5 separate regions of the Homo sapiens genome follow, and all the other regions are linked to region 4. Evidence: promoter capture Hi-C in 16 types of primary human blood cells and fetal thymus (Javierre and others, 2016). All regions are on one chromosome and are shown on one strand. Each heading gives the region's core, a stretch centred on a gene start or on the middle of the fragment in contact. The rest is flanking DNA. Distances are from core to core; before and after follow the strand shown.

What was found. Contacts are between HindIII fragments. The CHiCAGO score rates a contact against its expected background, and 5 or more counts as called.
Region 1: a fragment that was not itself captured here is called in contact with the fragment with the promoter of ADAMTSL3 in region 4 in 1 of 17 cell types (M0 macrophages); the score reaches 5.4 in M0 macrophages.
Region 2: a contact is called between a fragment that was not itself captured here and the fragment with the promoter of ADAMTSL3 in region 4, in 3 of 17 cell types (M1 macrophages, M0 macrophages and endothelial precursors). The highest score is 8.4, in M1 macrophages.
Region 3: a fragment that was not itself captured here is called in contact with the fragment with the promoter of ADAMTSL3 in region 4 in 1 of 17 cell types (M1 macrophages); the score reaches 6.6 in M1 macrophages.
Region 5: a contact is called between a fragment that was not itself captured here and the fragment with the promoter of ADAMTSL3 in region 4, in 1 of 17 cell types (M1 macrophages). The highest score is 5.4, in M1 macrophages.

The regions. Positions count from the first base shown.
Region 1 is chr15:84,003,453-84,008,127 of GRCh38, forward strand. All of the region lies in intron 23 of ADAMTSL3 (ADAMTS like 3), which reads left to right. Among named protein-coding and RNA genes, the nearest start is that of GOLGA6L4, 230 kb to the right of the region's middle. The HindIII fragment of the contact is 2,845 bases long and covers 879-3,723 here.
Region 2 is chr15:84,029,180-84,034,329 of GRCh38, forward strand. ADAMTSL3 (ADAMTS like 3) reads left to right here. Exons shown (of 30, transcript NM_207517.3): 28 at 2,156-2,253. Among named protein-coding and RNA genes, the nearest start is that of GOLGA6L4, 200 kb to the right of the region's middle. The HindIII fragment of the contact is 1,662 bases long and covers 1,949-3,610 here.
Region 3 is chr15:83,979,276-83,984,349 of GRCh38, forward strand. ADAMTSL3 (ADAMTS like 3) reads left to right here. Exons shown (of 30, transcript NM_207517.3): 21 at 2,998-4,069. Among named protein-coding and RNA genes, the nearest start is that of GOLGA6L4, 250 kb to the right of the region's middle. RefSeq lists a silencer at 4,448-4,637. The HindIII fragment of the contact is 4,490 bases long and covers 1-4,392 here.
Region 4 is chr15:83,651,950-83,656,935 of GRCh38, forward strand. ADAMTSL3 (ADAMTS like 3) reads left to right here and starts at 2,174. Exons shown (of 30, transcript NM_207517.3): 1 at 2,174-2,327; 2 at 3,780-3,881. The coding sequence starts at 3,813. RefSeq lists an enhancer at 643-812. The HindIII fragment of the contact is 5,383 bases long and covers 359-4,986 here.
Region 5 is chr15:83,953,613-83,959,004 of GRCh38, forward strand. All of the region lies in intron 19 of ADAMTSL3 (ADAMTS like 3), which reads left to right. It overlaps LOC105370935 (a long non-coding RNA gene), which reads right to left. Exons shown (of 3, transcript XR_007064744.1): 1 at 1-5,392. Among named protein-coding and RNA genes, the nearest start is that of GOLGA6L4, 280 kb to the right of the region's middle. The HindIII fragment of the contact is 620 bases long and covers 3,218-3,837 here.

The DNA.
Region 1 (4,675 bases), core at 1,051-3,550, 350 kb after region 4:
TCCAGGCTTCTAAAGAAATGAGTTGCTTTAATTCCATGAGTCTCTGAGTGGTGCCTCCTGGCTGGCCTGTGTTCCCTTGGCTCCTCGTATTGGTGTCAGAGCAGGAGCCAGAGTGGCTAGTCCGGAGTTTCCCAAACCTGTATGAGATTTGATAGCAATTGGGAAGCTTTTCATACCAGGCAGTAAAAGTGAAGGGTTTTGAATGCCCTATACCACTCAAATCTACTTATACTGTAAGAAATGCCTTTGCTTGCTCTCTGCCCTCCAAGACTCTCTGCTTTTGGTTCTGTGTGCTGAGACCCCCAGGCAGCAGCAGAGAGCACAGGACAAGTGTGCAGCATGGAACAGCATCCATTATAAAACACAGGGAACCGTCAGAAGCCCCTGAATGACCCACTAGTTCATTCCGGCTGCTATGACCTAACTATGCCTTCACAGCAAGACCGAGAGGCCCACAGCACCCACACAGGGTGGGGACTGAGGGAAAGGGAATTTTGTTGGAATTCAACCCCCGGAAATAAGAAAGCATGCAAGCTTCTGAGTACAGTCTGAGAAAACCATGCAGGACCTTGTTAATGGAAGAAAAACACTCCTTTATGGGAAGAGCCCCATAGGACCTGTGTAGAATTTTGGCCTCTCTAGTAACATCCCAACTTATATAACCCTGTTTTTTTTCTTTTCATTCATTTATTTCCCCTAGTTATTAATTCAATACCCAGTTATTCATTTTGATGACTGACACATACTACAGTCAGGTCATTTTATTATTTTGGTTAATGTCAGTTCAGGCCTGGACACCACAACATCTCCCCAGCCCTGCCCTGAGAGATTCTGATTTAATTCATCGGCAGTATGTCCTGAGAACCAAGGATTTTTAAAGCTTCGCCAGAAGATTCTAATGTGCAGCCAAGGTTAAGAACCACTGATTTAGCCAGTAAATGGGGCCAAAGAGGTCCCTGGAAATTATCTCAAATATCCTCTCAAAATGAGAGACTCTTCCTCAGGAATTAGTGGGTAACCAGAGGTCAACTAGAACCAGGAGTAAACCAGGAGTAAACCAGGAGTGAACCAGGAGTGAGTAATCAGGAGTAAACTAGAATTAACCAGGAGTGAGTAAACAGGAGTAAACTCAAATTAGGAGTGAACCAGGAGTGGGTAACTGGGAGTGAACTAAAAGCGGGGGCTAAATGGTAGAACCCAGCTCCATGCTCTGGGCTCATTCTGAAGGTAGAATCAGGCATGCCAACAATTGATGCCTCAGTGTTCAAAGGTTCACACAGGAGAAATCAGCTGTCAATGTCCAAGAGGATCAAGGAAGTGATTTTGAGATGCGTCTTTAAGAATGAGGAGAAATGTTCCAGGTGGTGAAAGGGAATAGCAAATGATCTGCAATGGCGAGAACAGCACATAGAACAGCTTTACAGCCAGTGTGGTGTGTTTGGAGAACAGTGCAGTTCCCGGGCTGGAGGATAGCTGTTCTTAGCAGTGACTCCCCTAAATTGAAAAGGCTTTTGTGCTTTTCTCCTCCAAGAACAGGAAAGGCTATAGAGCTAAGAAAACTGACTCTTACTCCCTACCATTCCTGAGGAGAAAAGACCCCCCAGAAATAGAGTGAGAGGTGCAGCTCAGAAGAACCAAAGGCAAGAGTTAGTGGTTTAAGGAAAGAGGAAATGGAGTCCTGGGGAATCAACACGGCCTTGAGATGTCACCCCAAGACACCAGCAGCCCACACATAGTCCTCTGGGGTTTTGCTGGTGATAGCAGTGGAATCCACTTGGAGATTTTGGTGCATGATCTCCAAATAACTAATATTTTTAACTGGCTAATAGCTATTTGTTCATCTATATCCCAATGTTATCTTGATAGATTACCAGAATTGCTGATTATCAGGAAGGGCCTCAGGAATGTCCATGGTTCTCCCTTTGAGCTGCTGTTTAGGAGTTCCTCCTATCCCCTTTACTGGAATCAGTAGTTTACACCACTTGCATAGCTCCAGCATGTATCGCTATGCTTGATTTGCACCAACTCTTGACTTTCTTCTTCAAGGAACTACTGAAGGTTTTTGGTTTTGATATAATAATTTTCACTGGCACTTTCTAGCCTATAAATAAGACTCTGGAGGACAATATCCAGCAGTGAACTGTGTGGTGCTCATGAGATATGTCTGGTGGCGTTAAAGAACTGCCCAGGCTCGCGCAAAGCAGAAGCCCAGGGTACGTGAGAGATGAGAATGACCACACCAGGAAGAGGACTTGTTGACACTCTTCTCCATGTCAGAAGAAACACAGTTCAAAACCTTTAGGGAAGGACTTTTAATGATGGAGTTGGGAATAGATACTATGACCCAGATGATTTCTAAATCCTCAGAAATCAAATTGATTGGGGAACAGATTATGTCAATCTAAACATGAGTTTACTAGAGAAAAGAAAGTACTTAAACAGCTATTCAAGAGAATTCTGTAAATAGTAAAAGCCAGAGCCCTCTATTTGGAGACAGTTCTGGATATGGCATCAATGATGGATAGTCCATTGTATCCAAAAAGCATACATAACGTATTTTTCAAAAAGAACAAAAGGGTATGCAGTTAACTCAGAAGAGGAACGTTCCTTACAAAATTTACTCTGCTGCACAGATTGGCCCTGCAGTTAAGAAGAGTGCATTCATTATTCTAGTAGCTTTGAGATACTTTCTCTGACACTGAACCCTTGAACTCTTATTTCTTTCTTTCATTTATTAGTGATGACTCCCTTTGTCTATCCTGTGTTTGATTTGCCTTTTATAAATTGGCAACATCATTTCTTCATGATTCCCCAGAGATAACTGATGGTAGCTTAAATCTTCATTTGTCGTATATGAAAAAGTAATGCAGAATTCTGAGTGAGTTTTGAGTAGCTGGAAGAAACAAACATGAGAAAAAAATATAGGTATAATATATATTTATTTAAAGATCCAGCATTTCAGGGCAGTCTGAACAGGCCAGGGATTTATAGTGTGGAATATTTCATGGGCCTTTCAAGGATGAAGGAAATTTGTTTTTAAACACTGACTAGTTTAAAGACACCCCCGAGGTGCAAACTTTTTGCAACACATGTTTCACAGCCCCTCCGGCTCTGAACTTTTTTCCACAACATTTGTCTTCCAAAACAATTTCAGCATTGTGGAAACAGAATGTTGAATATATCAGAGCTGCAAGTCTTGGGGGAAATAGCCTGTCTTTAAGGTTAGATAAATAAGTTTAAACTATTTCTGACGTTTTATAGCTGTTGCAACAGAGCAAATGTGTTATTTTGAAACACCATAAAGAGCAGTGGTGCGAAGAAATCTGTCTGAATTTCCTCTGGCCTGTTCAGTTCTTTGAAAATGTTTACACGTGTAACGATGCTTCTAGGTGCTGAACAGACCTGTGGGGTAGGAGAGGGAGTTGGAGTTCACTATGGGACTTACGGAGTTTGAGGTGCCTGTGGGACATGTTGTGCCAATGGGAGATGTCCAGGAGTCTTGAATTCAAGGGAGAGATTAAGACTGGATAGGTAGATGTGGGAGTTTTCAGCATAGGAATTATCACTATATTTCCCAAAGTAGATGAAATGGCCCCTGGGACAGTGTGTAGTGTGAAGGAAGGACTTGGTCCTGTACTCTGGTGTGGTCCTGTGCTCTTCATTTCAAACTTCCTATTTCTGACATTTTCTTTTGGAATGTAACTTTGTCAGTTTGTTCTGAGAAGCTTGCGCTGGCATGGCTGTTTGGCCATCTTGGTTGTTTTCATACCTTAGTTTTTAGTCTAGACTCCCATGGTCACGTGGAACAGAGAACCACCTCGAACTGGCTTAAGAAAAAATGGAGGAACTATTGGCTAATAAAACCGAAAAGTTCTGGAGTGTAGACACTCTGGACATAATTTTAGATACATCTGGATTCAGGAACTTAAATGATTTAGTCAAGAATCCACCCCTTAGCCAGGCACAATGATGCATACCTATAGTTCCAGCTATTCAGGAGGCTGAGATGGGAGGATCCCTGGAGCCCAGAAGTTTGAAGCTTCCGTATGCTATGATCATGCCTGTGCATAGCCACTGCACTCCAGCCCAGTGAGACCCCATCACTAAAAAAATAAAAATCCATCTCTCTCTGGCTCTGTTTTTTTTCTGTGTTTTGAGGTGGTTGGTGGGCAAGGGTTGAGGGAAGACCATGTATGTTAGCAGATCATAAAACATCATAAGCAGTTTATTTTTTGTTCTAAGTGAGATGGAAGCCATTAGAGGATTCTAAGCAAAGGAGTGTCATGATCTGAGCTACCTTTTAGAAGAAATACTATGGCTATTGTGTTGAAAATAGACTGTAAAAAATCAGAGAGTAAAAGGAAGGCAAGGGTGGAAATAGGGAGATGAGATAAGTATTCCAGGTGAGCAAAGCCATCCCTAAATTCCCTGCCCTGGACTCCACTTCCCTCTCCAGCTATTGCCTTAGTTCTTGATTTCCATTTATAGCAAAGTGCCTCAAGAGTAGTTTATACTTGCTGTCTTCAATTTCATTTCTCTTCATTCTCTCTTGAATCCACTCCAACCAAACATTCTCCATACCATTACCTTCATAGCTATTGTCAAGGTCACCAACAGCTTACCATGTAAGTGTGAATTGCTAACTTCAGTTGTCAGGTTTGTTTGTTTGTTTTTT
Region 2 (5,150 bases), core at 1,530-4,029, 380 kb after region 4:
CACAGACTGGAACAGTTTGGAGGGCTCAGAAGAAGACAGGAAGATTTGGGAGAGTTTGGAACTTCCTAGAGATCTGTTGAAGGGTTTTGACCAAAATGCTGATAGTGGTGTGGACAATAAAGTCCAGGCTGAGATGGTCTCAGGTGGAGATGAGGAACTTCTTGGGAACTAGAGCAAAGGTGACTCTTGCTATGCTTTAGCAAAGAGAATGGAGGCATTTTGCCCCTGTCCTAGAGATCTGTGGAATGTTGAACTTGAGAGAGATGATTTAGGGTATCTGGTAGAAGAAATTTCTAAGCATCAAAGCATTCAAGAGGTGACTTGGATGCTCTTAAAAGCATTCAGTTTTATGCATTCACAAAGAGATGACTTGGAATTGGAACTTATGTTTCAAAGGGAAGCAGAGCATAAAAGTTTGGAAAATTTGCAGCCTGAGGATGCAATGGAAAAGAAAAACCCATTTTCTGAGGAGCTGAGGAGAAATTCAAGCTGGCTGCAGAAATTTGCATAAGGAATGAGGAGCAAAATGCCAATACAATGGGGAACATGTCTCCAGGGCACGTCAGTGGTCTTCACAGCAGCCCCTCCCATCACATACCCTGAGGCATAGGAGAAAAAAGTGGTTTCCTGGGCTGAGCCCAGGAACTTGCTGCTTTGTGCAGTCCGAGCACTTGGAGCCCTGTGTCTCAGCCATGGCTAAAAGGAACCAACATACAACTCAGGCCATTGCTTCAGAGGGCGCAAGCCCCAACCCTTGGCAGCTTACACATGGTGTTGGGCCTGCAGGTGCACAGAAGTCAAGAATTGAGGTTTGAGAACCTCTGCCTAGATTTCAGAGGAATGTATGGAAAACCCTAGATGTCCAGACAGAAGTTTGCTGCAGGAGTAGGGTCCTCATAAAGAACCTCTGTTACAGCAGTGCAGAAGGGAAATGTGGGGTTGGAGCCTCCACACAGAGTCTCCACTGGTGCATTGCCTAGTGGAGCTGTGAGAAGAGGACCACCATCCTTCTGACCCCAGAATGGTAGATCTACTGACAGCTTGTGCTGTGTGCCTGGAAAAGCCACAGTCACTTAACACCAGCCCATGAAAGCAGCCAGGAGTGAGGACTGTACCCTGCAAAGCCACAGAGGAGGAGCTGCTTAAGGCCATGGGAGCCCACCTCTTACATCAGCATGATGGAAGACACGGGGTCATGTCTGGATGTGAGACATGGGGTCAAAGGAGATCATATCGGAACTTTAAGATTTGACTGCCCCATTGGATTTTGGCCTTGTATGGGGCCTATAGTCCCATTATTTTGGCCAACTTCTCCCATTTGGAATGGGTGTATTTATCCACTGCCTGTACCTCCACTGTATCTAGGAAGTAACTAACTTACTTTTCATGTTACAGGCTCATAGGCAGAAGAGACTTGCCTTATTTCAGATGAGACTTTGGACTTGGACTTTTGGGTTAATGCTGGAATGAATTAAGACTTTGGGGGACTGTTGGGAAGGCATGAATGCTTTTGAAATGTGAAAGGGACATGAGATTTGGGAGGGGCCACGGGCAGAATGATATGGTTAGGCTTTTTGTCCTCACCCAAATCTCATCTTGAATTTTAATCCCCACAATCCCCACATGTCAAGGGAGAGACCAGGTGGAGGCAGTTGGATCATGGCGACAGTTTCCCTCATGCTATTCTCATGATAGTGAGTGAGTTCTCACAAGATCTGATTGTTTTATAAAGGGGGCTCTTCTCCCTTCACTTGGCACTTCTCCTCTTTGCCGCTTGTGAAGAAGGTGCCTTGTTTCCCCTTCACCTTCTGACATGATTGTAAGTCTTCTGAGGCTTCCCCAGCCATGCTGACTGTGAGTCAATTAAACCTCTTTCCTTTGTAAATTACCCAGTCTCGGGTATGTCTTTAGAGCAGTGTGAAAATGGACTAATACAGAGGGGATGGTAAGCTTAGGCAGTTTCTTCCTGACTCTGAAAAAGAGGTGTCTGGTCCACAGAGCTGTACCCTAATCCTCTTTAACTCCCCCCTGGGGACAGTTGGTTACAGTCCCCTTGTAATAGGTCTTCAGCTATCCTGCCTCAGTACATGATCTTAGTACACACAGCATGGATGAGCTTGCAGGATTTACACTGCACTGTGCTTTTTTGTTCCAGTGTCCTGGACGTTGCATGGGCCGTGCTGTGAGGATGCAGCAGCGTCACACAGCTTGTCAACACAACAGCTCTGACTCCAACTGTGATGACAGAAAGAGGTAGGGGCCCCACCCCAGAGCAGCACACATTCTCTCCTGACTCACTCAGGACAATGATTATAACTGCCTGAAAATGGAATCCTTTCTAGTTTCTACCAACTCTCATAATTGACAGTTTTCAATTATGATTTATTTAGTGTCATCTTCAATAGTATATATTATACTGAAATACTAGTTAATGTGCACTATTTATAACTATAAATTGTTTGGATGTTAAACAATAAAGGGACACCACTCTATGTGGTAAAAGGGGAAAAGGATATCATTGAGAAAACGGAGATACTTCTCCCTCTATATACTAAGTTAATCAAGCCTAATAATATTCCATTTAGGCTTACAGATTAAATCTTCTTAATGCTTTTAATGAACTGCTTTATTTCTCTGTTTAGAAAATGTTTTGATTAGGATATTGTCACAGTGGTTGGCAGATAGTAAAATAAACTTTAATCTTGTTGAGGAGGTTAAATAAGGGTGGAGTTTGCTTTCCTCCTTTTATAAAAGTCTGAGCTGGTAGATGGTTTAGGGATAGAAGAGCTTTTTTCATGGGGTCATCCAGAGATCCAGATGCCCTCCATCTGGCAGCTCTACCATCCAAGAGAACAGCACCCCAGCCAGCAGAAAGTGGGGAGAGAGCCTAGAAGGCACACTAATCGGGGGCTTGGGAGTTCTATTATATCACTCACTTACTGTGTGACCCTGGACTGCCTAGCCACCTAATCTGCAAAGTGGGATATTATCATCCATGTGAACTTATGTTTAGAAAGTTTTAATGATTTAGCTTAGTGTGAAACACGAGGCAGCCTGGGTCATGGAAGATGCTCAATATCTGGCTATTTCTTCCTTTTCCATGTCCTGAGTCTTGCTGGAGAAAATGAGATGACCTTGACAGTTGGCTGGGTTACCATTTTGAGCCTTCAGTAAGGTTTGGCAATGTAGGGTCAGTTGCATTTCCTATTCCCCACAAAGTGATTTCAAGCCAAAACCATTCTCCTCAAATGGAAAATGTTTGGAACGGCTGCTCTCATTCTCAACAGACAACCTAAGTTTCCTATTTTCCTGAGAAGATACAGACCACACACAGATTGATATGCATCATCCCAGGTGCTTTACTTTGCATTCACAAAGATATACTTAAAGCACAAATACATACATGGGTCACATACATATTTTTCTGAAACTTGCTTTTTCTACCTAAGAATATATTATAGATAATTCCCATCAAGTAAAGATTAACTTTATTCTTTTTAATTTTGTACTTAATACTCTATTCTACTCAATATTCTATCTAAATTTTGTACTTAATATTCTGTTGCTAATGGACATTGGATAGTTTCAAACTTTTTGCTATTATAAACTAAGCTTCAGTAAATATCCTGGAACATATATCTTTGGGTACAAAGGGTAATATTTTTATAGAGTAGATTTTTAGATAATGGAATTGAATTGGTAGGAATGCTCATTTTGATGCTATCAAATTGCCATCAAAATTTCTATGCCAGCAATATGTGAGAGTTGCCCCCTTTTCATCAACATGATATAGGTTTGCAGTCTTTTAAAATTTTTGCCAATCTGATGGATGAAAATTTATCTCATTGTAATGTGTACTTTCCTGATTACTTTTTTATATGATTTTTTATTCCTTATATTTTTTTTCTTGAACTCATCTTCATTTTTTCTTTTCTGCCACCATTACCCTTGGCCAAACCACCATCGTATCTCACCTGGTATACTGTCACAGCTGTCCAACTGGTCCCCCTTCATCCATCCATGCTCCTTTCCAACCCAGTCTCCACAGTACAGCCAGAGTGAGTTTTCCCAGATGCAAATCTGATCCTACCACCACCACAACCCATCTCCCTGCTAGACTAAAATTACTTTAGAGGTTTTACTTGCTCTTAGGAAGATTGACCAAATCCTCAATGTGACCTATAAAATACCACATGCTTGGCTGGGCATGGTGGCTCACACTTGTAATCCTAGTACTTTGGGAGGCTGAGGCAGGCAGATCACTTGAAGTCAGGAGTTTGAGACCAGCCTGCCAACATAGTGAAACCCTGTCTCTACTAAAAATACAAAATTAGCTGGGCATGGTTGCACATGCCTGTGATCCCAGCTATTTGGGAGGCTGAGGCAGGAGAATTGCTTGAACCTGGGAGGTGGAGGCTGCAGTGAGCCAAGATCACACCACTGTACTCCAGCCTGGGCAACAGAGCAAGACTCTATCTCAAAAAAACAAACCAAAAAACAAACAAAAAAACGTGCTCAAGTCCTACTTTTCTTCACAGCCTCATCCATTATCTCATGCTGTCTCACTCTTCATGTTCCAGCCACACTGTCCTTCTGTCAGTTTCTCAGATATGTCACATACTTTCCAATCAAAGGTAGCAAAAAATAAGAGGCAGAAAATGTAATACGGAAGATAAAGAGTATAGAAGGATCTATCAAGAGGCTCAAAATCTGATTAAATTGGGTTTTAGACCAAGAGATATGAAAGTGAAATTAAAGGGTAGACTTTTTTTTAATAATGGAAGAAAATTCCTAGAGCTGGGGGTGAGTCAGAGTGGCAGGGAGTCAAGTTACCATTCATTTTCTCTTTTATTTCTGTTTCCTCCAGGATTGGCTGTTCTGTTTTTATAACCTGATGCTTTTCTTTCATGGTGTTAATATTTTTTCCTCAGATATCTGGTGGTTTATGGATGAGGGATGAAGTTGGTTAGTATAGAGAGCTGTCGAGGGTTTCTTCTGCAGTGTTTTAGCCCCCTTTTCCCCACAGACCTCTTCTGCTGGATTGGTTTATGACCATGGGCTCTCTGTAGGTAGGTGAGGTGTTAGATCTCACTTTTGAGTGGGTGGACAGGGAGCAATGGAGACCCCCCATTTGCCATAGTAGGGCCTCA
Region 3 (5,074 bases), core at 898-3,397, 330 kb after region 4:
TTATGCTCTGCTTGCAAAGAAGTGAGTTACAAAACCATCCATGTGCACATCCATCTTTTATATTGTCCACCACTGAAAGGCCCATAGCCAGACAGTGTCCACCTGGATCTTTTTAAATAAAAATGATACTTACACGGGTAGGCATACCTTGCCTTGTTACAATAGGCTACTTCTAAGTATTCATAACATGCAATCCAATTAGTAAAAATAGAAGCAGGTGAGTAATAAAAAAAGGAGAACAAACAACGTTAATATGTGATTGTGTCTTGAATTTTATATTCCTTTTACATGTAGGCACTAATTTGGCTCCAAACTTGCTTTAACAGCCATCTTGAAAAAGGCAACCTTGCCAATTGCAGTTTAGGAATTCATTAGATAGGAAATGAGCTAATTACTCAGAGTAAAGTATAATGATTTCTGATGCTAAAACCAGAAAGAAATCCTCCCATGATCCTCTTGCAGAAGACACTGGATATTGTGAAGACTAGAATGTGCTCATAGACAACACAGATGCTGCTTCCTATTTTCCCTTCCCTCTTGACCAGCAGCTTCCTGTCAAATTGTCTTTCAGTGAAAGAAACTGGGTCAGGAATGCCTTTCTCTAGTGCTTTGGCTTAATTCATGGTACATGCTGGGGTAATGGTCCTCGAACTTTGCTGCACATTTCAGTCAACTGGGGAACTTTAAAAAATTCTGATGTCCTGGCTGCACCCCGTAAGTCAGAATTTCTGGGGATGGGACCCAGGATACTGAGATTAGTGAATACTAACAATAACAGGTGATTCTAACAAATAGCAAAATTTGAGAGCCATTTTTTTTAGAGCATCTGTGGTCAGAGTTGATATTGAACCTGCACATACCAGTATGGACATGGTCAGAAATATGGTCAGAAAAAAAAGAATTAGTAAACAGCCTCTGCTGGAACCCCATGAGCATTTCTCACCTGCTCAGGCCACTCTGCCAGTAACCGCCTGACTTGTCCATAATCGAACAACTATGGGGTTAACACTTCGTACCATAGTAGGCCTCCAAGACCCTATTCCAGTGCTATGGCCAGACACATTCTGTTGATTGAGCCCTTGCTGTGAAGATTTAGTATTTTGAACACCATCTATATTATCTATAGTAATGGATTGACTATAAATTTACCAGGGAGTCTTCCATACATGTTTTTCAGCTTTTGATTGTTGAACAGTAGAAAGTTCAAAATTGTATTCTAGCCAAATTAGGGGAAATTTACATGGCTTAACTGGCTGGGCCATTTGACATACTTTGTAGATACTCTGTCTCCCAAAAAGTAAAAGTATGTATGTGGCAGTTCATCCAGCTCCACTTAGAGATGATGTGACAGAGCATTTTCAAGCAGAACCCTGGACCCATCCTGAGATCAATAGGCCTGACCTACCAATTGCATCTGTATGGAATTTGTATACAAACAAATTATGTATGTCCTTCACTGAGAACATTCTCTACCACAGAAATTATGGGTTCACCTCCATTGTTTCCCTGAACCTGTTGACACCACGAAACCCCAGTAGGCAGCCAGACTTCAAAGGGCTCATGAGGCGTGCAAGAGGACTTCAGTTATTCTCAGTTCTCAGGGTACCAGTAAACACACTGTAGCCAGCGCCAAGGGCCTGAGAAGGCTATGAAAGAGAAGTCTCAATCTGCTTCTTCTCCCAGCGTGTGCTACAACAAGGAGGACCTGTAACTGGGGTCCCCCAAGGTAAATTAGGTCCCCATTGCATGACCTTCTAAATCCAGAGGTATTCTTGATGTTAGTCCAGTATCTCTTCTGCCACTCACTAGTGCTTCCAAGCCATCCATCCTACACTCCACAATCTGCTCAGGAACCTAAATACATCATCAAAGAGGATCCAGACTTCCACCCATATCACTGTCCTTCTCCCATGCCTACCTCAGAATCACCCCAGAACACATTGAGCCTTCTCTCAGGTGAAACAAGGGAGAGAAATACTTCTCTTGGGGACAGGATCTGAGAAGTATTGTCTTTGGGCCTAGCCCATTAAGAGGAGCCGATCGATGCCCAGGAACAAGTCAAAGCCAACCCCATCTCTGTTCCCTCTTAGTCTTCCCTGCTGTGCATTGGCTGCACCTGCCCTTGTCACCAGATCAGTGGTGGCAGCAGTTATATATGAGAGCTCATTATGTGCCCGCTACTGTGCTGTGCACTTGATATAAACAATCTGACTTAATTTTTACTTCCCTCCCATTGAAAGCACTAACATTATTCACATTTCACAGGTGAGGAAACTGAGGCTCAGAGAGATGAAAGAATTTGTCCAAGTGGCAGAGCTAAGATTCAAACTCAGGTTTATCTGACTTCAAACTGCCTATGCCACCTGTTCTTTTTTGATCACGGCTACCCATTGCTTCTTCAGACCCCCATGCCAATTTAATCGACATATTTGGGTTATATTCTGCAGCTGGCCAACCTCAGCCTCCTTTCAGACCCTTCAAATACATTTGCTCACATTCCCACTCTCACTTCCTCCCTCAGATTTGGGGTACCCATGGCTCTAAGCCAGAGGGCCTCTCTGCCAGATAGTAGAGACCTGACATATCAGACCCTTATTGATGGAAACATGTACCCAGAGGCTGGGTATTTATGGAGCCATTATATGAGCATGGCCTAGAACAAATATTCCTCAAATCTAGAAATAACTATTCCCTACATTTCACCAAATCATTTAACCTCATGCCTCCCCAAACCAGGGTTTTATCAAATCACTTACACATTTTCATGCACCTCATTCACACTTGCATTCTTTGCCACTAAAGTACTAGATAGTTGTGAAATTTACCCCAATCTGTGGATGTATAATGTTATTCATGGTTTTATTCTTGAATGTTTTAAAATAGTAAAAAAGATACGTTTGTTAGCCTGTATCAGCCTTGAAAGATTACTGTCAAAAAGTCTGTATTTTTGAGATGTTTATTCGTATTTTCTTTTCTTTCTTTTTTTTTTTCTTGGAGAAATCAAATCAGAGATGAAGACAAAACTTGGTGAGCAGGGTCCGCAGATCCTCAGTGTCCAGAGAGTCTACATTCAGACAAGGGAAGAGAAGCGTATTAACCTGACCATTGGTAGCAGAGCCTATTTGCTGCCCAACACATCCGTGATTATTAAGTGCCCCGTGCGACGATTCCAGAAATCTCTGATCCAGTGGGAGAAGGATGGCCGTTGCCTGCAGAACTCCAAACGGCTTGGCATCACCAAGTCAGGCTCACTAAAAATCCATGGTCTTGCTGCCCCCGACATCGGCGTGTACCGGTGCATTGCAGGCTCTGCACAGGAAACAGTTGTGCTCAAGCTCATTGGTACTGACAACCGGCTCATCGCACGCCCAGCCCTCAGGGAGCCTATGAGGGAATATCCTGGGATGGACCACAGCGAAGCCAATAGTTTGGGAGTCACATGGCACAAAATGAGGCAAATGTGGAATAACAAAAATGACCTTTATCTGGATGATGACCACATTAGTAACCAGCCTTTCTTGAGAGCTCTGTTAGGCCACTGCAGCAATTCTGCAGGAAGCACCAACTCCTGGGAGTTGAAGAATAAGCAGTTTGAAGCAGCAGTTAAACAAGGAGCATATAGCATGGATACAGCCCAGTTTGATGAGCTGATAAGAAACATGAGTCAGCTCATGGAAACCGGAGAGGTCAGCGATGATCTTGCGTCCCAGCTGATATATCAGCTGGTGGCCGAATTAGCCAAGGCACAGCCAACACACATGCAGTGGCGGGGCATCCAGGAAGAGACACCTCCTGCTGCTCAGCTCAGAGGGGAAACAGGGAGTGTGTCCCAAAGCTCGCATGCAAAAAACTCAGGCAAGCTGACATTCAAGCCGAAAGGACCTGTTCTCATGAGGCAAAGCCAACCTCCCTCAATTTCATTTAATAAAACAATAAATTCCAGGATTGGAAATACAGTATACATTACAAAAAGGACAGAGGTCATCAATATACTGTGTGACCTTATTACCCCCAGTGAGGCCACATATACATGGACCAAGGATGGAACCTTGTTACAGCCCTCAGTAAAGTAAGTAAAATAAAAATGCAGTATTCATTTTTGCACTACCTTCTTAATGGCTATTCCAGTTTTCTTGAAAATATTTTCAAATTCCTCTCCTAAGCATGTGTTTCCAACAGGATTCTTTAGGAAAGAAACTAAAAAATGTTAAGATGTGTTTTTCACATATACGTTGGAATTTTTAAATTCAACCGCCATATCATCCCAATCACTGTCGTAGAGGTGTGATATGACTGGATCCAGCAAGAATAAGTTTAAGCATATATACACTCCCCCTTTACTCAGCACTTGGCATTTAAAAATAAAATCAATATAAGGCCATTTTAAAAGTAAGCTTATTAATAGTAATCCTACATTATGTTGGAACTGCAAATCAGAATTTACAGAGCTCTTCCATGTCTAGGAGATGTGGTATCTTATTTGAGCTCACATCAGCCCCATGAGATTGGCAGGGCAGGGGTTAACCTTTCTGATGAGGTAATTGAGAAGCAGAATCCCATGACTACTTCATGGCCAATCAGAACCAAGGGCCGTATCTCTTGAATACCCACCAGTGGTATTTGAGTATCACACAAATACGTAGCCTTGTCAAAAGCTTGGGTATCTGAAGTAGTTTTCTATTATCATGCAATTTTTAAATGTCATACAATCCAAAAATAAGAATCATAGTGTTTTGAGATGTTCAAAACACAGTATTAAGTCACATATTATTCTGATCTCTATGCCAGTGTAAAAATGTCACATTTCCTTTATTTTACATAACAGATACTAATTTACTTTTGCATTCTTTATTGCCTTCAAATCTTGCTGTTTGTATACAAAGTACTATAGACATTGTGCCTTCTTTTGATTCACATGTAAGAGCTCCAGCTCTACCTTATCTGCCTTTAGAGATCGTTAAGAGACACAAATAACACAGCAGATGTGAAACTGTTTTGCATATCACAAGGTACTTTCAAAATGCAAGTTTTACTTTTATCATGTCCTTTGTGCATTGAGCCTCGTATGTGAAAC
Region 4 (4,986 bases), core at 924-3,423:
TTGCTCAATTAACCTCTGTTAAATTTGTCTAAAGTTTTTATTTTAACACCTCATAATCAATAGCTGCAGCACTTTCAAAGTCATTGAACCAGTGCTGAACGTTTTGAGTCTCTTGAGACACATGTTGGAAGCTAAGGTCCAACCAGTCAACCCTCTGTCTTCTTGTTTCAGCTTTCACACTGTAAATGAGTGGCCCAAAAGTTCTCTTCATTGCCATGTTTTCACATTTTTTTGGTCTTTTTTTTGATGATTTTGCTGCTTAAAGCACCCCCCAGGCACAGTGCTGAAGTGAAGTCTAGCGTTCCTAAGTGGAAGAAGGCTGGGATGTGTGTTGCAGAGAAAATACGTAAGTTAGATAAGCTTCATTCAGGCATGAGTTACAGCACTGTAGGCTGTGAGCTCAGTGTTCAGGAATCAACAATAGATGTTAAGTAAGGCGTCTTTAAACAGAAACATGCATAAAATAAGGCAATGTGTTGATTGATTGACAAAAATATTGTGAGCTTGCAGGAACCCAACTCTATATTTCCCCTAGGAACAATGGCTCCATATTCACAAATTCGTTGTTCTGTGACTTTATAGACCACAACTACAGTAAATAAAAAGGATCGATTGTCCATAGATGAGTTAGTTCTAGTTTAGCCCAGCCCTCCCTACCCTTCACTGGCTACTCTTACCTCTCCTGTCTCCACACTGACCTGTCCTCTGCTCACTTGCCACAAGTCCAATCATTTTACATAGAGTGGAGAGACAGCCTTGAAGATCCTCTTCTTGGTCAGAGGAAGTCACCAGAGTAAGTAAGGGAAGAATGAGTGAGGAAAGCAGGCAGGGCCAATTGCTCTTGGCAAAGCTCTAGCAGTAACCGGAACGCAGCAACCACAGAGAAGGCAGGAGAACAACTTTAGGGGTGAACAGTCCAGGCTCTAGAGAGAGGCAGATAGGGGTTCCAGTCCTGGCTTCTCCACTCATGGTGGGCAAGTTATCCTCCCAGCCTCAGATTTATCCTAGGTGAAATGGGATAATGCTCGAACTACTGCTGCTGTGAAGATCAGATAGACACAAAGAGCTTGGTACTCGACAGACACCCAAGGAAATGGCGACTGTGGTAGGACTTAGGTGGGGGCATAATGCAGCCTTTAAGATCAATCTCCTGGCCCTTGGCTTATCCTGCTGGGACTAGGACAAGGACAGGGACAAACATTTCCTTTTACTTCTCCTCACCTCCAGAAGTACACAGGCAACTCACCCCAGTCTCTTGTCCGCGACACTCTTCCCCCCAACCCCAAATCCCAGGCCTGGACACGGCATGATTCTGGCACCTGTGGAGCTCTCAGTTCCCCAAGCCCGGCTCAGACAAGGAGGCGCCAGGTACCCAGTTAAGAGGCGCTCCTGCAAGATCCTCGTGGTCCCTGGCTGCCAAAGGTCCCAGGCCTCTGGGCAGTGAGCGCTCCACAGTCCCTTGTGTGGCGTCTATGCTGCGCGGAGGAGGCGCAGGCCAGGAGAGGGCCATTGGTCTCCACTATGGTCCTGCCTGGCCAGGAGTGCCTATGGCTCTTAGGCACGAGCCAGCGGTTCCGGGCAAACCTCTGTGTGGCTGCTGGGCCTGACTTTGCAGAGCTGGCGCCCGGGTCTGGGCGGGGTGGGTGGAGGCTATGGGAGGTGGGGCCGGGGGTGGGCTCGGGGGGAGCGACGGCATCCCTGCTCCGGCTCCGGCTGAGGCGGGGCGGCCAGGCTGGCTTGCGGCGCAGCGGCCGCCTTTCCCCAGTGCGCCTGCCGGCGGCGGCGGTGGCGGCGTCGGCAATCCCGGCTCTTGGCACAACGCCTGGCGGCCGGCCCAGGGCGAGGAGTGGCTTCCAGGAAGCGGGCGGAGGAGCGTTCCAGCCGAGTCCCGCCGTCGCCGCGGCCCCGCGCGCTCCGAGCGGCCCGGGCCTGGCCCCACACGGCGTCTCTTCGCGCCCCCGGCGCCTCCAGCTCAAGCCGAGGGCGCGGTGCCGGCGCGCAGGCTGACGGGCGCCTGGGCGCGCCGTGCACTTGCCGGGCGGTGCAGGTGGCGGCGCGCGCCCTCCGCCTCTGGGCCGGGGCCAGCGCAGCGCTCTGCGCGCCCGGAGGGGGCGGGAGAGGCGGGGCAGCCCCCGTCCCAGCCCCATTTAACTTCGCGGCGGCGGCGGCGACTGCGGCGCCGCGGGCTGGAGGCCGGCGTCGGGGAAGGTCCTGGTGCCGGATTCCGCACGAGGTGTTGACGGGCGGCTTCTGCCAACTTCTCCCCAGCGCGCGCCGAGCCCGCGCGGCCCCGGGGCTGCACGTCCCAGATACTTCTGCGGCGCAAGGTGGGTGCACCGAGCTCGGCGCAGGGCGGCCCCTCAGGGGTCGGGGGAAGGCGCTCCCCAGAGGGAGTAAGACTTGGAGCAGTGGCCTCTCTAAGCAAGTTGGGGGTCTCCAAGCAGAGTCGGGGCGTGCCACGCGGGCCCCAGGGGGCCTCAGGACTGGGGTGCTCCTCACTGCTGGGCACCTCGGGTCGGGCGCGCTTCGTGCCGTCCCGGAAGGTTCAGGGAGAGTCTTTCGGCGGCAGTTCGCGGGCTGAGGGGCGTTCTTGATTATGGGGGAACTCCACAGGGTTGGAGTTTTTCAGGATTGGGAGTTACTAAGCAGAAACCTCGCGGGTCCGAAGGTCCGGCCGGTTGACCACTGGGTAGCGAGCGCCCAGAACGCCGGGGGTTGAGGCGACGCGCGATCGTGGAAAGTGGGCGTGGGGGTGACCGGGACGCGGCGGAGGCACTGGAGGAGCGACTTCGAGGCAGCGGGTAGTCGGAGGAGTGTGCACTCGGAAGGCTGGTGCGAGCAGGCGAGGGTGGCGCAGAGTCCCAGGGCCCCGCACTGGCCGCCTCCCTTCAGCCAGGAGTCGCCGCCTCAGGTCGGAAACAGCAGCACATTTGCGGATCACATTAGACCAGGCCCTTAATGCCTTCTCCAGATGGAGAGAAGCCACCGACCCGCCCCCGGACACCAGCTCCGCCAAGGCGCCCGCGAGGCGAAGCGGGAGTCGAGTGTGACCTCGGCTTTTCCAGTCTCGACTCATACTGATTTCCCTGTAAATTGACAGGAAAAGTAAGGGAAAAAGTCCCCGCTTCCCTCCTGGTTTCAGCTGACCTCTGCTGGCTGGCCCTCACCTACTTTTAGGAGATTGTGTTAGGCTGGCTCAGGGGCTGTGTCCTCCAAACCTCCCTGAACTTAGCTCTCAGGCGTCTCTCTGGGTGTGGGTCCCGGACCTCGAGGGCGCACGGTGTCATCTAGCGAGGAAAGCCTTGAACTATCAGAAGATCTGCGTTTCAGCCCTAAAATGTCACTATCTTGCTGTGTGACCTTAGGCAGGTCCTTTCCCTCTCTGGGCGGCTTTGTTGTCTTAGACTCATTTTTGCCGCGAGCAGCAGAAGCTAGCCTAAACCTTGGCTCTGTGCTGGCTTCCTGAGTCAAATGCCAATAGCGACACCCTGCTGCTGACAGATAGGCTTGGGCAGGGATATCTCAGCTTCTGAAGAGCTGGAGGTATGAGATGCCCACTGGAGACAGGTCCAGCCCTCGCCTGACTTTGTTGTGGACCTTCTAAAGGGAGCCCAGTTAGCCTGCACCCTGCAGTAGGCAGCGGCAACCTGGGCCAACACAAACCTTTCCAAAATAGTATATGGGCTTCAGGGTCCCTCCATCTAATGGGTCGCTTAAGTCACGGTTTACTGCCATGGGGGCCAGAGCTGGTTGGTAATGAACTCTTTCCTCGTTTGTAGGCTACAACTGAGACCCGGAGGAGACTAGACCCCATGGCTTCCTGGACGAGCCCCTGGTGGGTGCTGATAGGGATGGTCTTCATGCACTCTCCCCTCCCGCAGGTAAGGTCATATAGGGAGGGGAAGGGAAATGGTGGACATCCCTCTGTTTACTCAGAGGCATTATTGTATACCACCTAAGATGTGGCATGATTAGTGTTAATCCTACACCAGAGAACCAGACTTTCTTTCCTATCTCTAGCCAATGGTATTTCTGGTTGGCTTAGCTGTAAGGATTATCCAGATCCCTTGGGTCCTCTCTGAATCCTGAGTAGGGCTTTAATAGCACTGTGGATACCATACACCGGTGATGACCTGGGGCTGTGATGGACCCTGTCATTTCAGACTAGAATGGCTGTCTGCATGTGCCCAGCAGAGGCTGGGTTGCTGGAGACCAGGAAACAATGGGCAGAGCCAGGTTCTGGCCCTAGCTAAGCTGCTAAATAAATATTCTGAGTTTACATCTATCATCACATATCCCACTGTTTTATCCCACAGTCCTCTCTTTAGACTTCTGCTGTCTTTTCCAACCAACTTGAGAGGACCCGGCTCATGAATTGCATCTTTATTTGCCTAAAGGACAGACTCAAACAAAGGAATGAGGCTAGCATTGCCTAAGAGACAATAGAGAGTAACGGAGACAGTGGCAAAGTGCAGAACGCGTGCTCCATCTATTAAGAGCAGTCTCTACTCAATTCCATCTGATCGTTGCTAAGTGGAGACATAAGCCCAGGATTGCCAGATCTTATTTTTCAAGATAGCTGGATCATCTAGACTTCTTACAAAATTTCCCAGTTTTTAAAGTATTGAAAGGCAGATAAATGTGTTTGCAGCCTGGATTCAGCCAAGCAGTTTGCAGCCCCAGATCTAAAGGCAGGGCACATCTTAGTATTGTGTCCCAAGGGCTGCTGCTAGCTCCATACAGTGTCTTATGAATTAGAACAAGGCAATCCCTCCCTGCAGACATAGCTTCTCAAATACATGGCTTGGTGGCCTGTGTACCCTCAGGGTCTCGGAAGGGACTTGTCACTTAAGGGCTTAAATGTCTGTTAAATAAACATGCATCCATGAATGAAGATATATACCCTGGGATAAATTAATCAGACTCCTCTGCCTCTTGTTTCACTTTCTTGGACTTAGTGCCTCTAAAGCCTCTTTTGGCTCCAAT
Region 5 (5,392 bases), core at 2,278-4,777, 300 kb after region 4:
TTACTATTACCAGTGAGTTTTGTACCTTCAGGTGATTTCTTCTTGCTTATTAATATCCTTTTATTTCAGACTGAAGAGCTCCCTTTAGCATTTCTTATAGGACAGGTCTGGTGTTAATAAAATCCCTCAGCTTTTGTTTGTCTGGGAAGACCTTTATTTCTCCTTAATGCTTGAAGGATATTTTCACTGGATATACTATTCTAGGGTAAAAGTTTTGTTCCTTCAGCACTTTAAATATGTCATGCCACTCTCTCCTGGCCTTTAAGGTTTCCACTGAAAAGTCTGTTTCCAGACTTATTAGAACCCCATTGTGTGTTATTTGTTTCTTTTCTCTTTTTGCTTTTATGGTATTTACCCTTGACCTTTGGGAGTTTGACTATTAAATTCCTTGAGGTAGTCCTCTTTGCACTAAGTATGCTTGGTATTATATAACCTTCTTGCACTTGAATGTTAATATCTTTCTCTAGGTTTGGGAAGTTCTCTGATATCCCTTTGAATAATTTTTCTACCCCTATCGCTTTCTCTACCTCCCCTTTAAGACTAATAACTCTTAGATTTGCCCCTTCAGGGTTATTTTCTAAATCTTGTAGGCATGCTTCATTATTTTTTATTCTTTTTTCTTTTGTCTCCTCTAACTGTATTTTAAAATACCCTGTTTTCAGGCTCACCAGTTCTTTCTTCTGGTTGATCAGTTCTGCTGCCAAGAGACTCTGATACATTCTTCAGTATGTCAATTGTATTTTTTAAATCTAGAATTTCTGCTTGATTTTAAAAATTAATCTCTTTGTTAAATTTATCTGATAGAATTCTGAATTCCTTTTCTATATTGTCTTGAATTTGTTTGAGTTTCCTCAAAATGGCTATTTTGAATTCTCTGTCATGTATCTCTGTCACTCCAGGATTGGTCCCTGGTGCCTGATGTAGTTCATTTGGTGAAGTCATGTTTTCCTGTAGATGTCCTTTGGTGTCTGGGCATTGAATAATTATGTATTTATTGTAGTCTTCACAATCTGGGCTTTACAGTCTATGCCTGTCCTTCTTGGGAAGCCTTTCCAAGTATTCAAAGGGACTTGGGCCCCAAGCCCAGTAACACTGTGCTTCATGCACACTCATAGAGATATCACTTTGGTGGTCTTGGATAAGATCCAGAAGCATTCTCTGGATTACCAGGAAGAGACTCTTGTTCTCTTCCTTTACTTTCTCCCAAACAAACAGCATCTCTCTGCCTCTGTCTCTGTCTCTCTCTCTCTCTCTGCTGAGCCACCTGGAGCTGGGATTGGGGTGATGCAAGCACCCCTATGGCCACCAACACTGGAACTGCCCTGGGTCAGACCTGAAGCCAGAATAGCACTGGGTTTCACCCAAGACCCACTGCAGCCACTATCTGGTTACTGCCTATGTTCACTCAAGGCCCTAGGGCTACAGTCAGCAAGAGTTGAAGCCATCCAGGCTTATGTCCTTCCCTTCAGGCTTATGTTCTTCCCTTCAGGGAGGCAAGTTCTTTCAGGCCCTGGGCATGTCCAGAGATACTTTCTGAGAGCCAGGGATTTAAGTCAAAAACCTTAGAAATCTACCTGGTATTCTATTACCCTGTGGCTAAGCTGCCACTGAAACCATACAACAAAATCCTTCCCCCTCTTCCCTCCCCTTTCCACAGGCAGAGGAGCTCTCCCCATGGCCATCATCATCAGCAGTCCGTAGAGAGTTCTGCCAGGCTACCATTGCTGATCACTTAATGCCTAGGGGCTCTTCAGCCAGCTTGTGAATGCTGCCAAACCTGGGATTCACCCTTCAGGGTAGTAGGCTCCCACCTCTGGCCCAGGGAAGGTGCAGAAATGCTGTCCGAAAGCCTAGGCCTGAACTCAGGGACCCCTGAAGCCCACTAGATACTCTATCCACTGTGCTGAGCTGTTACCCGAAGCCAGCATATCTCAAAGTCTCATCCAAGGCCCATGGCATACTACCTGGATATCACTTTTGGTTATTCAGGGCCCAAGGGCTCTTTAGTTAGCAGATAATTAATGCTGCCAGGACTTGGTCTTTCTCTTCAAGGCAGTGGGTTCCCTTCTGGCCCAGGGTGTGTCTAGAAATGTCACCCAGGAGCTAGGACCTGGCATGGGGGCTTCACGACTCTGCCCAGTGCACTGTCTGTGGCTGAGCTTGTATCCAAGATGCAAGACAAAGTACAAAGTCCTCTTGACTGGTCTCTCTCCTCTCCTCAAGCAGAAGGAAGGAGTTGCTTTCATTGCTACAAGCTGTGCTGCTTGGGGTTGAGGGAGGGGTAGTGCAGGTACTTCCCCAGCTGCCCCATCTGGTGTGTCACTAGGTCACACACTGCCCCAGTCCACTGGCTCTAACCCCAGAACACCATCAGACTTGCCTAAGAATCTGAGTCCTTCCTAGACTGCCTTTCAAGTTCACTTAGGACCCCACAGCACCTTAGCCCATGGTGGTGAGACTGCTGAAACTCAGGCTCCGGCCACTGGAATAGGCACTTCCCCTCTGGCTAGGGCTGGTCCAAATGCTGTCTCTGTGGGTATCAGCTGAGTTCAACATGGTTTCACTTCCCACTGTGACAGGGCAGCACTGAGTTCAATGCAAAGTCCCCCAGTTGCTGTGCTCTCCCTCCCTGAAGTGCACAGATTCTCTCTCCGTGCCATGCAGCCACTGCCAGGGAATGGGGAAGGGGTGGTGTTGGTGATTTAAGGCCATCTTTTCTGCCTTCTTCAGTGCCTCTTTCAGTGATAAGAAATTAAAAACAAGTACTGTGATGGCTCACCCAATTTTTAGTTCTTATGAAGGTGCTTTTTTGTTCACAGATAATTGTTTAAATTTAGTTTTCCTGTGGTAGTGGGAGTAGGGGGATGATCAATGTAGCCTTCTATTCTGCCATCTTGCTCTGCCCTTTTTGCTAAGCACTCTTCTACTGGAATAATAGTGTCTTTTTAGACTGAATCTGACAGTTTACTCTTATATTATGACCCATCCAAAATATGCCCAGTGGATTCAAATTCATGTAGTTCTATCTGTTCCATGTGTTTTAAGTTACACACACACACCGCACAGGCACACACACACACACACACACATAACCTGAATACACTTTATTTTCCTGACCCAAAGTAACTGCCAGAGGGGAAGACCCATTTCTGCACATGTTTGTATCCCACTTGGTGCTTGGTAAACACTTTTTGGCTGAAGTATAAAGATTTATAAAAGCTTCTTCTACTCTAAATAGGCCTATTTCCATAGCCTTACAAACTCACTCATTTAATCAACATTTACTGAGCATTGCTATGTTGATTACCCTAGGCACCAGGAACCAGAGACAACTAAGAATAGTTTTCAGTGAGCTCACTGTTTAAAAAGGCAGGCAGAAGAAATGACATTTACAACCATGTAAAAAATGCCCAATAAAGGTGTTCTGTCTACAGAGCTACGTGAAAATTGAAGGGAAACGTTTAAGTCTGCCTGGGTCACTGGAAAGTGTTGCATAAGATGCAGCTTTGGAGTTGCGTCTTAAGAGATGAGTGCAAACTGTGTGGAAATGAGACAGAGGGGTGTTCTAGAGTGACAAGCGTGTATATAAAGGCACAGATTTGGGAGAGTTTATCAGTCTTGTGTGGCTTGAGAACAGGATGCACTGAGTAAGTGCTGGTAGGTGAGATGGAAAGGAGAGATTACAGCTGGATTGTGAAGGCTTTAGGGTATTGGATTTATCCCTACAGTCATTGAGAGCATGTTGGAAGGTGTTTGAATGGGGAAGTAAAATGTAAGGTTTTAGACATATAATTCTGGCTGCACTATGGATAAGGTATTAGAGGAAGAAGGAATTGAAGCTTGAAAAACCTTGTTAGATGGTGATTGGAATAAAATCAACAAGAGAGAATGAAGAAGCAGTTGGGATAGAGAGTAGTAAGTGGTTTTGAACAATATGTAGGAGATTTAACTGACATATTTGGCAATTGAATTGACAGGACATGAGCAAAAAAGAGGAGTGTTTTGTATTTTTGTCCTGGGAAGCTAATGAATGAGACGACATTAATTTTAAAATTAATTAGAAAGAAGAAGCATATTCAGAAAGTGACTTGAAAGGGAGAGAAAAATGGCTTATTTTAGACATACATGTAGTTTGAGAGTCTATAAAGGTATCAGTAAAGAATTACAGCTCAGAAAAGATCTACATTAAAGTTATAATTGCGTGAATCATCAACACATATGTGGTAGTTGAAACCATGGAAGATGACTACCATGATATCTAAAAGTATATTATTGACAGTAGTCCCTTTAAAAATTATTTGAAGGCTTCTAGTGAAGCAAAATCATGGTAGTAGCATAGTTACTATTCCCAAATCCCTCATTAAAAAACAAAAAGCAGAGCAATTAGGAATGCAGAAGGAAAGGAAAAACAACAGAGGTAATTTTAACAAAAGTAATATAAGTAGGTGAGGCCAAACCACACAGTGCAGACACTGTTCAGAAATGGCAGAATTAGCAGCTGGGCAGCGATAAAAAAGAGGAGAGACAGGGCCAAGAGTTGTGGAACACAGATGTCACGAATAAATAGCATGACAAGAAAATGATCCTACTCTGAGTAGAACCCTCAGCAAATAGGTCTGAGACCAATCAGCCAAATTGAGGAAGGACTCCAGAGTGTGATTGGTTCCAGAGTGTGATTGGATGCAAGAAAGATTGTGCAGAACCACTAAAGGGCTTAAGAAGTGCCCAAGAAAAGTTGTCAGAATTATAATCCAAGTGGAGAAGGAACACAAGAGGTAAAGGAAAGAGATGTTCAGATCCTTGGGAGTTGGGGAGTCCAGAGATACAAATCCCAGAATTGTGGCCAAATTGTTGCATATAATACTTCCTTTTAACACCAGAGGAGGAAGCTCTTAACAGTGAAGATAACTATCCTGAAATATTCCCTCCTGCTTACACTCTCTTTCCCTAAAAGTACAGAAAACAATCTAATTCATTTAATAAGAACATCTGCAAACCTCCAAAAAGATACAGTAAGATAAAAGTATCAATAGCATACCAACATAATGAAAATTTGGCCTTTAAACAGATGAAAATATACTCAGTGTTACAAAATGAGCTAAGAGAAACAAAAAGAAAACTGTAGAAACAAATCAGAAATAGAAAATTCAAGAAATGAGATGAATAAATAACAGGAGAATGTAAAATGATAGCTGACGGTTTAGAAAAGAATTTTTAAAACTAAGGGTAAATTTCTCAGAATGTAGACTAAACACTAGAAGAAACTCAAGAATGACTGGGCAGAGAAAGTGTAATAAGCAAAATAAAAGGAGGGAAATGACAAGAATCAAAGAGAAATAAAAAAAGATTCAAGTGCAGATAATATATATAAAAGACAAGGAAATAAAATTCA